3 separate regions of the Homo sapiens genome follow, and all the other regions are linked to region 2. The links are contacts of gene promoters, found by promoter capture Hi-C in blood cells and fetal thymus (Javierre and others, 2016). All regions are on one chromosome and are shown on one strand. The core of a region is centred on a gene start or on the middle of the fragment in contact, and the rest is flanking DNA. Distances in the headings are between cores, read along the strand shown. Region 1 overlaps PSMD6 (proteasome 26S subunit, non-ATPase 6). Region 2 holds the start of TMF1 (TATA element modulatory factor 1). Region 3 overlaps ATXN7 (ataxin 7).

Evidence for each region. The method cuts DNA at HindIII sites, captures the fragments that hold promoters and counts their contacts. A CHiCAGO score of 5 or more calls a contact.
Region 1: a contact is called between a fragment that was not itself captured here and the fragment with the promoter of TMF1 in region 2, in 1 of 17 cell types (total CD8 T cells). The highest score is 8.3, in total CD8 T cells.
Region 3: a fragment that was not itself captured here is called in contact with the fragment with the promoter of TMF1 in region 2 in 4 of 17 cell types (non-activated CD4 T cells, activated CD4 T cells, naive B cells and 1 more); the score reaches 13.4 in non-activated CD4 T cells.

Annotation. Positions count from the first base shown.
Region 1 is chr3:64,006,506-64,010,743 of GRCh38, reverse strand. It overlaps PSMD6 (proteasome 26S subunit, non-ATPase 6), which reads left to right. Exons shown (of 8, transcript NM_014814.3): 8 at 1-193. The coding sequence ends at 76. PSMD6-AS2 (PSMD6 antisense RNA 2) reads right to left here. Exons shown (of 3, transcript NR_038286.1): 2 at 991-1,047. Among named protein-coding and RNA genes, the nearest start is that of PSMD6-AS1, 3.3 kb to the left of the region's middle. The HindIII fragment of the contact is 1,783 bases long and covers 523-2,305 here.
Region 2 is chr3:69,049,578-69,053,701 of GRCh38, reverse strand. It overlaps TMF1 (TATA element modulatory factor 1), which reads left to right and starts at 1,369. Exons shown (of 17, transcript NM_007114.3): 1 at 1,369-1,757. The coding sequence starts at 1,616. RefSeq lists an enhancer at 1,308-1,777. The HindIII fragment of the contact is 2,649 bases long and covers 1,131-3,779 here.
Region 3 is chr3:63,911,531-63,916,138 of GRCh38, reverse strand. It overlaps ATXN7 (ataxin 7), which reads right to left. Exons shown (of 13, transcript NM_001377405.1): 3 at 3,216-3,551; 4 at 2,914-2,982. The coding sequence starts at 3,540. It also overlaps SCAANT1. Among named protein-coding and RNA genes, the nearest start is that of ATXN7, 50 kb to the right of the region's middle. RefSeq lists a silencer at 3,238-4,077 and an enhancer at 4,408-4,487. The HindIII fragment of the contact is 2,350 bases long and covers 2,184-4,533 here.

The DNA of each region.
Region 1 (4,238 bases), core at 165-2,664, 5.0 Mb after region 2:
GTACCAAGAAACTATCAAGAAAGGAGATCTGCTACTAAACAGAGTTCAAAAACTTTCCAGAGTAATTAATATGTAAAGCCATGTAACTAACAAAGGATTTGCTTTAGAGATAATTATTTGGAATTTTTATAGCTTACTTCACAATGTGCCCAGGTCAGCTGTATAAAATAAATACTGCATTGTTGTTTCTTTCCATTTATTTTTTTCTTAAACACATAGGCCTTCTAGAATCGGGTCCACTTATGTTAAAATAATGTCACTTGAATTATTCATTAATGAAAATCTGGTTTATAGGGTAAGGTTGCAGCTGGGTTCAGCTAGGTTCAGCTCCTGACTGCCTCATCAGTAAAATACGTCAGTAAAATACGGATGTTGACACAGCCCATTATCGCTTACCTTTAAATCTCTTACCTGTAAGCTTCCCGATTTTAGAAAGAAGAGTAGTGGCCTAAAATTAAACAAACAGTGTCTCCCACTTTTAGTATACAAAAGATAGAAGATAAAGAAAATGTGTAATAAGCTTTCCCTCAGAAACAAGTAACCATATAAGGCAGGAAGTTACTCTTTTTTAGGAAGCTGACATAACCTGGATTACAGAATCTACCAAGGCTGATCTCAGTTTTCTAAAACCTTATATGTAAGTATTTATTAGCAAACTGAATCTTTTTTCCAAAAGTAGGACCATAGTAATAATAGCAGTGAGGAAAACAAAGTTGTTCCTCTGTTTGTTTGAAACAGTTTATTAGTTTTATCAGTTTTATTCAGTGTGTCAGATAGGAATAAGTGCTATAAGAAGTATAAAACCAGATAGACAGACAGATAGATAGATAGATAGATAGAGATACAGGGTATAGGCCGTCTTCTGAGGTGTTGTGGAAGGCTTCTATGGTAAGGTGACATTTAAGTGAAAAGGAGGGAGAGCCCATGAACGTATGGAGGGAAGAAAGACGAGGAAAGTCACTGGCAATTTTAAGTGCGGATTTGGCTTACCTTTTACGTCTCACTTACGGCATTCGGTGGCATGGATTGTACAGGCAGCTGGATTTGCTAAAAGATTGAAGAATGGGGTGAGGAGGATGAGGGGGAGAAAATTTGTCAGAGGAGATCCTAGGCTTTTTGGCTTAAGTGAAAGACAGCTAGTGACCTTAATGAGCAGTTTTGGTAGAGGTGAGTTCAGAAGAGAATGGGAAATGGCATTTTACTGTAAAAGGCAAGGGAAGGAAAGAAGAGTTTTGAGTTTTTTTGCTTTAAATAACATTTACTGATGGGAATGATTCCTGTTAACATATTAGGAATAACATATTCCTAATATGGAATTCCTAACAGGAATAACATACTCCTGTTAACATGATCTCATTTGATTGAAAATAATTTGATATAATTCAACATTTCTTCATGATAAAAAAACTCTTCAGTAGACTATGAATAATAGGTTGGGATATCAAAGCCCTATCACAAGGTAATTAATGGCAAAATATTAGAAGCATTATCTTAAAAGTGAAGACAGCAGCTCTCATCGCTGGAAGAAGAGCCATTGGTTGTATGCCAAGGAAAGCAATGTGGCTAGATCTCTGTTTTGAAAGGAGTTTCCTGTAGGCACTGTATTGTGGAGGGGAGGCTTTTAAAATGCTGACTATGCCTAATGTATTTGAGAATATCCACCTATGAATTTCTAAAAATGCTTATCTAGAAAACATTTCTTAAAGGAAAAAAACCTCAGCTTTTTGGTTTTCTACAGAAAACCAAAGCTAGTCAGGAATGCAAAGGTGGCTTCTGAATGCTACAGAGTTGCAGTTGTTCACCCACAGGCGGCAATTGACACACCCTAAATACTTTTCCAAGAAAAAAATTTATAGTTACCACGTAAAAGTTGACAGTTTAAAAACCACATATCTAGCTTCTCTGGAAAAAGGACAGGTGAAGCTAAATCTGGACTCACGCTCCAATAAGCTGAGCGACAAGCATAGCGTGTTTTCCAGTGTGCCCCAGTCCACCCAGTCTGTTCATATACACTGCCTGTCTGCCTGGCCCCTGCTGGCATTTGAGCTTGTTATCCCTGCACTACCCCCAATATTGTGCATGTGAGGTTGATGGTTAACAGCCTCCTGTGTTAATCAACTAAGACAGGGGTGTCCCATCTTTTGGCTTCCCTGGGCCACACTGGAAGAATTGTCTTGGGTGACACAAAATACGCTAAGGATAGCTGATGAGCTCAAAACAAAACAGCTCATAATGTTTTAAGAAAACTTACAAATGTGTGTTGGGCCACATTCAAAGCTGTTGTGGGCTCTGGGTTGGACAAGCTTGAGCTAGGAGAAACTATCCAAAGAATTCCTAACCTTTATCCTGTCTCTAGTAGCTTTAACTGGTACAGCTTGTTTTCTGAAAGTCTTAATTTTCTGCTTTTATTCAAGAAGGTTACTTCACAATATGAAAATAAGATTATGAAATGATGCTAAAACAGTTATACATAGTTCCTTTTTCATGTTGGTAAATGTTTTCTTTTGAAGTGGGAAACAATCTTATTTTTAACCCTGGTTTCAGTCAAAAGTAACTATCCTAGTGTGAAATGATATCGCCAGGATAAACTATCTTTTGTGATTATTTTTAAAGCAGAAATGCCAGTTTCTCTTACCTCAGTAAAAGTTGATTTTATAGCAAATCTATCGAGTAAGAGCTAAATATTTTAAAGCTATGTCAAATTATGGTAATCTATTTCCTGTATTAGAAATAACAGCTTTAGGTCAATTTTTAAGCTATTAAAAAACAGTGTCTCTTAGGACAGAAACAGTGTAAAAACCACTTTTGTTAAGCACCCAACTTTTACCTGCCCCAGATGGCTAGAAGGATGCCTACAACTTGATCACTAAGCATGCAATACTCAATACACTTAGGATTTTGTGACTGAACACATTTGGTCTTTTATAACCTGACCAAACATTAACTGATAAAAGGCTACTAAATCATTAGCAAATCATTTCTGTAATTTCATATTCTGAATTAGTCCTTGGTGCTGCTGTTAACCTAATGTTTTTAAGATGAACAGCTGACAGCTGAAATATCTGCCCCCATGATTATGGGGGAAAAAGCGTGGAGGGAACTATGATAATCCCTGACCTTCCCAATGCTACATAAACTTGTAGTTGCTGGTAACAAACCTGTGCCTCCACAATGGCAATGGGGGAGTGGGGTAAAATCCCCATCTGGATAACATGAAAAGCTCTGATAATCACTAGTTTTGGTTTCAAAGCTGTAGAGCCACAGATTTGCATTATGCTTGTGTTTCTGAAGGAATACAAAGGCTATCAGGAATTTGTAGCAATCTGATCCAGGCCATTTTAACCTTGACATACATGGTCAAAGGGTATAACCTTTTTTTTTTTTTTTTTTTTTTCCCCATTTAAAAATATCTTACAGTGGCATAACTTTCCCTGTACAAATTGGGTTTAAGAAACAAAAGGGACAATTTGCTAATCAATGATGAGCCTTTAATCCAACCATTATATATCCCCTTTCCATCCTTAGATCCCTTGAAGAGACCATTTAGTTAAGACTACCAACAGGTGACACCCTGACCTCCTTACCAACCTTGCCTTTTAGAGGTGACCAGAGACCTGTGCTTTTCCAAAGTACTGTTATACGTGTAATTAGTATAATATCAATGTGGGGAAACTCTACCTTTGGATTTTGAGGACTCTGCTTTTCTTGAAACCCTCTGGGTTAGAGACTGTTTATTCATATGCACCTCAGGAACTTGAGGCCAAGATGAAGTTCACTGTTTCCTAGTCCTTTGCTTGTTCTCCTGGCCATTATGTTTCCACCTTCATTCAAAATGCCTTCTCTTTGAAGCTGCTTATAACCCAGCAACACCATCAACTCACTGTGCTCACTGTCCTCAATCACACATCTCCAAGTCACTCTCCCCTCTTCCATGCAAATCATCCCAGAACCAAGCAACCCTAATTTGAAATGGACAACCTATACAACACCCTTGGCTTCACAGTTCCTCAGCCTGAATTCCAGTGCTCTTTTCCTCCATGCTGCTTCTGTCCACTGCCATGGTTTCCACCCAGGAATCACAAGCACCTCTGGCCAGTTCTGCTTTTGAAAATAATACTGGAATTCCAATTCCTCTGGCCAGTTCTGCTTTTGAAAGTAATACTGGAATTCCAATTCCTCCATTCCCTGTCCTATTCCTAAAAGTGCTGTATCACTTTGATAACTCTGGCCCCTGGATC
Region 2 (4,124 bases), core at 120-2,619:
TGGTACTACTTGTGTACATGACTAAATTGTTAGTTTTAACATGCAAGTTTTTACTGTAGTTAGATAAAATTATTGGAAGATGATTATAACTTCTTAAGGGGTTCAATCTGATTTTTTAAAAGAAAAATAATTCTTTTTTGCAGAGTTCCTTGCAGTGGGGTAAAATATTCAAATATGGGAGGCAGGCATATAAGGTAAATAATCACAGCAGGGAGGGTGTAATAGGATGAGTGATAGGGGTCTGTGGCAAACTGGAGTGAGTGAAAATTATTTGGTGACCACTCTGGCTGACTATTCCCATGCTTGGTATTCATATTTTTCAAAAGCAGCTGGAAATCTAGATTTTTGAATGAAATCTGGCTTTTAGTTAGGATTTTGTCTTTAACTTGGGCCCAAACCAAATATAGCTGCAGACTGGATTAGGAAGGCCACCAATTTAAGGTATTTTCCCATGTCCAAATGTTCGAAGAGAATGCACACAGAAAAGGTTATGTTTTAAGTAATATGCACAGTGCACATTGTTAGGATAACAGCTTTAGTGCTTCCTAGGTGTCTTAGTCCATTTGGACTGCTGTAACAAATTGCCATAAACTGGGTGGCTTATAAGCAGTAGCAATTTGTTTCTTAACAGTTCTAGAGGCTGAGAAGTCCAAGATAAGGAGCCGGCAGATTTGGTGTCTGGTGAGGGCTGCTATTCTGGCTTAGAGTTGGTGCCTTCTTGCCGTGAGCTCCCTTGGGCCTCTCTTATAAGGGCACTAACCCCATTTATGAGGGCTCCATCATCATCTAATCATCTCCTAAAGGCTCCCCTTAATACTGTCCCATTGGAGATTAGGTTTCAACATAGGAATTTGTGCAGGGGACACCGACAGACCACAGTATTAGGGGTATTTTGACTGCAGCAATGAGTTTACTACTATTTTGAGAGAGAGGTTGTGCTTTATGCACCATGTGTTCCACGAGTTGGACACAGTGTTCATACGTGATCCTGTCTTTTAGGCAAGCCCAAACAAGTGTTTCTCCTTACAATACCAAGTTAATACAGAGCTTATTAAATATTTGAGACAAAGGGCTAAGAGAAGTGTGAGGCCCAATTTCCCTTTGCAATTATTGCTGGCAAGGTGCAAGCTTTTAGCACGTGAACTATTTTCCTGGAAAGCACACACACGAAAACTTGAATATTCCTTCCGGGGAAATCGACCTCTATCGGTAGCCATAGCTTCCCCTTCGCTAAGAACTGCTGTAAGCACGAAATCGACATCAATAGAAACCCTTCCGCGTTCCTCGGTAACTAACGGCAACCCTGCGCTCCCGGATGTGACGTCAACGTTCTTCTGTTCTTCCGTCTGTCGACCGAACTCTGGGCTCGTAGATTTGGTTGCTGTGTACGTGGAAGAAGCAAGCGCATGCGCACATGGGCCCCCTTCGTCTCAGCTGTGCGGGAACGGCCGAGGGTAACATCCCGGGCTCGCGGGAGGCTGTCGGGGTAATGGCCACACGCTGACAGAACCAGCCGAGTGGAAAAGGGGAGCGAAGCCGTTCCTCTGCACCCTTCCCCAGGCCTGAGGCCTTCCCGCTTGGTGCTGCCGCCGCCACTGCCGGCTGAGGAGGGGCGATGAGTTGGTTCAACGCCTCCCAGCTCTCCAGCTTCGCTAAGCAGGCCCTGTCCCAGGCCCAGAAGTCTATTGACAGGGTTCTGGACATCCAGGAAGAGGAGCCGAGCATCTGGGCCGAGACCATTCCGTATGGAGAGCCGGGTAAGAGAGAGAGGAGCGGGGTTCCTGGCTCCCGGAGGCTGCTGTTCTCTTGATGCAGGCAGGTTAAGTGGTGTAGAGAGGGGTCCTTCCTTGCTGAGAGAGTTTTCAGGAAGTAATTTCTCCCCGGCCCGTTCCCTAATGCTGCTTCAGCCTCCAAGTCGGTCTTTGCTGTTTTCCTGAGGGAAAACCCAGATCCAGGTTCCCCCTTGTCTTTCTTTGGTCCTGGGTGCGAGGCTTGTGGACTTGGATGACAGGGGACTTGGTTGGTTGGTCTTGCCCTCAAGCTCTCCCTCGACGCAGCTTCCAAGCACAACCTTCCCGAACCTGAACCTCGAATTGCTTCGCGTCTCGGGCACTGTTGGGATCCAAGGTCTGAAGTACGTAAATCATCAGGGAAGGGAAGAACAATCGCTAACAGTCAGTGAACATTTCGCGCTTGGTAGCGCGTAATGTGGTTTTATGTTGTTGTTGAGACGGAGTCTCACTCCGTCGCCCAGGCTGGAGTGCAGTGGCGCGATCTCGGCTCACTGCAACCTCCGCCTCCCAGGTTCTAGCGATTCTCCTTCCCCAGCCTCCCTAGTAGCTGGGATTACAGGCGCCCACCACCACGCCCGGCAACTTTTTGTATTTTTAGTAGGGACGGGGTTTCACTATGTTGGCCAGGCTGGTGGAACTCCTGACTTAAGGCGATCCACCCACCTCGGCCTCCTAAAGTGCTGGGATTACAGGCACGAGCCTGTAATGTGCTTTTTTATGGCCTTCTCATCTTCAGAACAACTCCCAGAGAGAGCTTGGTTTATATCCGTGTTTTACATAAGAGGAAAATGAGGCCCAGAATGGCCAAGTAACTTGCTCTAGGTCACACGGCGGAGGAGGATTAGAATGTGCCGGAGGTATTAGCCGGAAAATGTGTGACCCAAGATTTCTGGATGGTATCACATTTTATTTCTGAATAGCCAAGTCTCTCTTTGCAGTTTCATTGAGCTTAATCTTTCAGGGATCTTCATTCAGTTGCTTTTGACTCTTAAGTCTAAGGAACAGTTCAGCATTTGATGTGTGGGGTAAAGATTTGCTGGTGTTGGGGGATGTGAACCTTTGTGTGAAAAAGGATAAGAGATGTACTTGACTACTCCTTTCTGGTTTCTGTTCTTAATTTTACATCATTGAAAAGTCAGGACCTAAATTTGAGGTACCTCAGTTTAAGATATTTTGGTCCATGTGTGTATGTGATGATCCTCTTTACTTTTTACAAGATGTCATATAACCTTGCTGGAGTAACTCTGTTTTTTCATATGTGCCCCAGTTAATTAGAATTACTAAACTTTAGATAAGATAGAATATAGGTTTTACATATAAGGATATTTGTTTTCGGAAAATGCCCATAGTCTTCAGAATGGTATAATTTAGATGGATACCAAATAACCCTGGGATTATATAAAGTATTCTCCAAGAGGCAAAATTAATTCCTGTCATCTTTTGAATGTATTTAAATTAATCAGACATAATCTTGGTTGTTCATTTGCATATTTAATTTTGATTTTCTCTGGTTTGGATATTGTGCAAATGAATGTGTAGAACTATGCCTCCAAACTGAAGTTTTCTACATACTTTTCATCCTAACTGCCTTTGAAGTCATACATATATTTACATATATATATATTTGTTTTTTTGTTTTTTTTTTTTTTGAGACACAGTCTCACTCTGTCATCCAGGCTGGAGTGCAGTGGTGCCATCTCTGTTCACTGCAGATTCTGTCTCCTGAGCTCAAGTGATTCTCGTGCCTCAACCTCCCGAGTAGCTGGGATTGCAGGTTTGCGTCACCACACCTGCCTAATTTTTGTAATTTTAGTAGAGACAGGGTTTTACCATGTTGGCCAGGCTGGTCTTGAACTCCTGACCTCAGGTGGTCCGCCCGCCTCGGCCTCCCAAAGTGCTGAGATTACAAGCGTGAGCCACTGCGCCTGGCCTGAAGTCATATTAAAGGATAGATTCTACTATAAGGCTTGATAGTTTTTAGAAGCTTTTAGTTACTTGTGCTCTCTCCACCAACTTCTAATTGTGAATATTTTGTGAATATTTTGTTCAGCCACATTTTAATTTGAAAAAGAAAACATTTTTAAAGAAATGCTTTAAATACTTTAACGAATATACCATTTTTAAGATCCTGATTATGCCATTTTTAAAAATCAGGATTTTAGTAGTAGCTATTTGTATGACTGATATGATAATTAACTTTTTCCCCAAGAAAACAGTCATTTTCTTTGTAGCGCTTTTTTAAAAACCCTAGTGTCAACCACCTCTATGTCAAAGAGCAATAGTTCTTAAAAAAACACACATTTCTGAAATTTATAATGACCTTGTAATTTC
Region 3 (4,608 bases), core at 2,109-4,608, 5.1 Mb after region 2:
GGGAAAGTATATTCAGAAAGATGAAATAACTAATGCAAGGTTAAGCAGCTTTCTCTCACATCCAGGCTTTCTAACCCCTAGGTCCAAAATTGCACATTGGAGAATTCAAGTCAAGTGCATATTCCTAGAGATATTTCAAGATGAGGAGTTTCTGGCGGGGGTGGTGGTTCATGCCTGTAATCCCAGCACTTCGTGGAGGCTGAGGCGGGTGGATCACCTGAGGTCAGGAGCTTCAGACCAGACTGACTAACATGGTGAATGAAACTCCATCTCTATAAAAAATACAAAAATTAGCCAGGTGTGGTGGTGCGTGCCTGTAATCCCAGCTACAAGGGAGGATGAGTCCAGAGAATCGCTTGAACCCAGGAAGCAGAGGTTGCAGTGAGCCGAGAACTTGCCACTGCACTCCAGCCTGGGTAACAGTCAGACACCGTCTCAAAAAAAAAAAAAAATAAATAAAGGGTCATTTCTGACTTCCAGTGATTCACTCACATGATCAATTTATCTACATATTTCTTCAATTTAACAAGAGGAATCAGTATGGATTCAACTTCAAAACATCTTTTCTTGGTAGCTGATAATTTTAAGCAGACAATGAATGAATAATAGTCTAATAAGTTTTGATAATATTAAATGTATTTTCATTTCTGAAGCAGCCTACAATGGTCTGTTAGGAGAACATAAAGGTCCACTGAGTGAGTGCTGAACATCCTCAAACTTGGATTTTAAAATATCCCCACATAATCCGCAAAGTCACAAACAAATGAAGAACTGACTGAATTTAAAACTTCGGTCTCAACTCAGACAGGTGTACGTTCCAAGTGGCCTGGTAGCTACAGCATCCTCTAAATGGTTAGAACAACTTTAAAAGGGGGAGGAGGGGAACCCTTAAAAAACACTAACAAGGGCCAGGCGGTGGCTCACACCTGTAATCCCAGCACTTTGGGAGGCCGAGGCAGGTGGGTCACGAGGTTAGGAGATTGAGACCATCGTGGCCAACGTGGTGAAACCTCCTCTCTACTAAAACACAAAAAATTAGCTGGGTGTGGTGGCCCGCCGCCTGCAGTCCCAGCTACTCGGGAGGCTGAGGCAGGAGAATCGCTTGAACCTGGGAGGTGGAGGTTGCACTGAGGAGGTGGAGGTTGCACTGAGCCAAGATCGCACCACTGCACTCCAGCATGGCCACAGAGTGAGACTCCGTCTCAAAAAACAAAACAAAACACTAACAAGATCCATGTCCCTTTTGTGCCTCAAGTAGGTAGTTTAACGTCTTAGTTCTTCATGAAAAACATGCTGATAAAAGTATCCCAACAGAAAATAATATATCTAGCAAAAATGAGGTACAGTCCCCTTAATTTGGTTGGGTCCCTGTCCAGCTCAAGGTACCCACTGAAACATTAATACACTTAACTCATCCTTTACAGCAGAATTATTGATAATTACAATCTTGTTTTCACACAGATTTAGAAACGTTTTATAGGATATGTATCCACACCCAGAGAATGAAAACTAAGAACAAGAGTAGGTCAGGTCCTCTAAAGTTCTACTCTAACTGCTTACTGTGAGAGTTGCCACCTAGTGATTTTAATTTTTTAAGCCCAGGCAGGCTGCCAATTCAGCACTAAAACCGGACTAGCAACTGATTTTTCATATTGCAACATCATCAACAAGTCCTGTGCTTTCCCTTGCTTTCCTTTACCCTCAAATAGCAATTCTCATTTTAAAAATCAACTAATTTGTTCTATAATCTGTTCCAATTGGAAGCTCTCATCGGGCTGTCACTGGTATTACTCTTCCTCCGAGTGCCAAGAGGCCAAAAAGCGCCCAATTCAAAAAAACCGAAACAGAGTTAAGTGAAGAAAAAGCAGGTGTGAAAAGCGAGAAGGAAATGTGAAGACAGTAACAATGGGCAAACTTTGGACTTAAAAATGTTCCAGTTGCCAAAGTTCTACCTATCCTTGGGCCATAGACAACAATTCTGCAAAATAAATGGCTACGAGTGAGAAATAAAATTGCATTCGGGGACTATAAACTCAGTATTCCGGGGCCAAACCTCACTCAAAGCCTTGTCCTAACTCACTGAAAGAATAACTTGAAACTGAACCCGAAGTTCACTGGACTTCAGAAGTCCTTTCTGACCACGGTATGCCCAGGCCTAGTGCAGGTATTAGACAACAAAAGCTTACTATTCAAAGAAAAAGAAAATCTCAAGAAAAAGTCTGACACTTTCCAGATACCTGGCCTGACTTTCATTTGGAGGCATACCCTATTTCCCTAGTGTATCTTTTTACCAAACAGTTTAAAACTAACAAATAATTAGACCCTGATTTCACCAGCCACGGGCAGTAAAGGCTTATTTGACCAAATAAAATTCTGGCTTTCTTTCCCCCGTGATATTGGCAGCTCGCAAAAAATCTGACCAAAATGCACTCCGGGTTATGATGACCTTTTTCTAACATCCCCAACTTGTACCTTAAATCCTACAGAAATAAGACTGCATAGGTAAAGCATCTTCTTTAAGTTCAAAATTCGTTTCGATTGCCAACAGAAAATGTCCCCTAAGCATTCGTGGAAAGGTTTCAAAGCTGAGAATTCCTTCCTCTACTCCTGTTTCTCCGTAAGGAGGTCAGAAATGCAGAGATCTAGGTTAAACTTCCCGCCGGTTCCCAGCGCTCATCACCAATAATGCTGCTCCTGCCTGGTCACAGAAGGATTCCGGACGCTCTCATTACAGGAGGCCCCCAAACCAAACTTTCCAAGCGCTCTGCCCCCTCCCTCCCTCCTCAGGCAGCATCTTCGCAGGCACGGGGAGTCGGGGAGTCGGTATGGTGGGCTGATGTTCCCGGTCCCAGTGAACTGTCAATGAAACTTCCCAGGGGTTTGTACAAACTCCATCAGGGGGGCTGGACTCACCTTCCCGACAGAGCCCCATGACTTCGCGGTTTTTCCCAAACTCCTTGAAACTTTCGTCCAATTCTGTCCCTAGGAGATATACACACACAGGAGGAGGGGAGAGGCAGGTCAGTGGCCAGGAGTGTGACGCACACTCACGCACGCACGGGGTAGGTGTGGGCACCTCCGCGTTCCGCAACCCAGCAAACGATAGCATCTCTGCCCCTCGAGGGGGCGGGTCACAGGAGGGGGGCAGGGGGGAGGGGAGGAGAGAGGAGGGGGTCGCGAGGGGGTGAAGGGGGGAGGAGGGCGTGGACACTCACCGTCCTTCCCAGGAAGTTTGGAAGCCTCAACCCACAGATTCCACGACTGTCCCAGCATCACTTCAGGACTGGGCAGAGGCCTGCGCTCCCCGACCGTCGCCATTGCGGCGGCCGAGGTGGAGGCGGCGCCGGGCCCGCCGTCCTCCGGCCGTGTGCGCCGTGGCGGCGGTGGCGGGTGCTGCTGCCGCTGGGGCTGCGGAGGCGGCGGCTGCTGCTGCTGCTGCTGCTGCTGCTGCTGCCGGGCGGCCGCGGCCGCTGCTCCGCCCGCCGCCGCCGCCGCGCGGCGCGGCTCCCCCCTGACGTCATCCGCGGCCCGCTCCGACATTCTTTCCGCTCCTACAATGTAACAAAAAAAAGGGGGAAAGAGTCGCGCGGGGGCCGTTTTTTAAGGAGGCGCCAGGGAGTTCCGGCGGCGTGCGCGGCCCGCGGACCGGGTGGGGCACGCTGACAGCGCCCCCATGGCCGCCCAGCCCCCCGAGCCCGCCTCCTCAAGGCCACCCCCCGCCCCGGGCTCAAAGTCCGCGGCGCGGGCTAGCTTTCGCTTTCGACTCCCGCGGCCGCCCGAGGGAGGGGACGGGCAGCAGGCGGCCCGCCACCGCGGCGCTGGGTCCCCTGCCTGCTTCTGCTCAGAGGACCTGGCGCGGAGGCCAGCGCCGGAGCGGCCCGGCTCCAACCCCGCGCCCCACCATGGCAGCCCGCGCGGGGAAGCCCGAGCCGCACCCCAGGACCTCCAGCTGCCCACCCTTCGGCCGCTTGCATCCCCGGGCCCGGCCCGGCTGCCCCGCTCCTTCCTTCCGTCCGCGCGTCCGTCCGAGCGGCGGCACCCGGCCGGCTCCCTTAAGCGGAGACGCCTCCCGCCGCCTCCTCCCACTTGCCGGTCCCTCCCTCTCAGCTCGCTCCGGCGAAGTTTGCACGTCAAGCCCCCGGACTGGAGCCAGGGCGAAGTCGGAAATGCAGCCACCTATGGAGGAGCCGGCCGGCCGGCCCCAGGGCAGCGCGGGAGAGGCTGGTGCAGGGGGCACTTTGCCCTCGGCTTGCGGGCGGCCGCAGAGTTGTCAAAAGCATGAATGGGAAGCCGCCGCAGAGCGGACTCCGGGCGTGCAGGGAACCTTGGGCTAGCGGGGAAGTGCCTCCCAGGTGTCTGCCCAGGTGTCAGGACGAAGTACCGTGTGCACGCCACGCCGCCCACATGTGTGCCCCCGACCCGCAATTGGAAGTCACACTGTGCGCCTGGGGAACTTGAATTCGTCCAGCAAAGAGAGAACATGAGATCAGTGTGCGAGGGAATGGAGGAGAGTGAAACAAACCGAGAGAAGCTTTAACCCGTGTACATATTTTAGAGGCACCACCCCAAGTTTCTGGAAGTGATTCATTCACCCCAAAAGTAAAAATC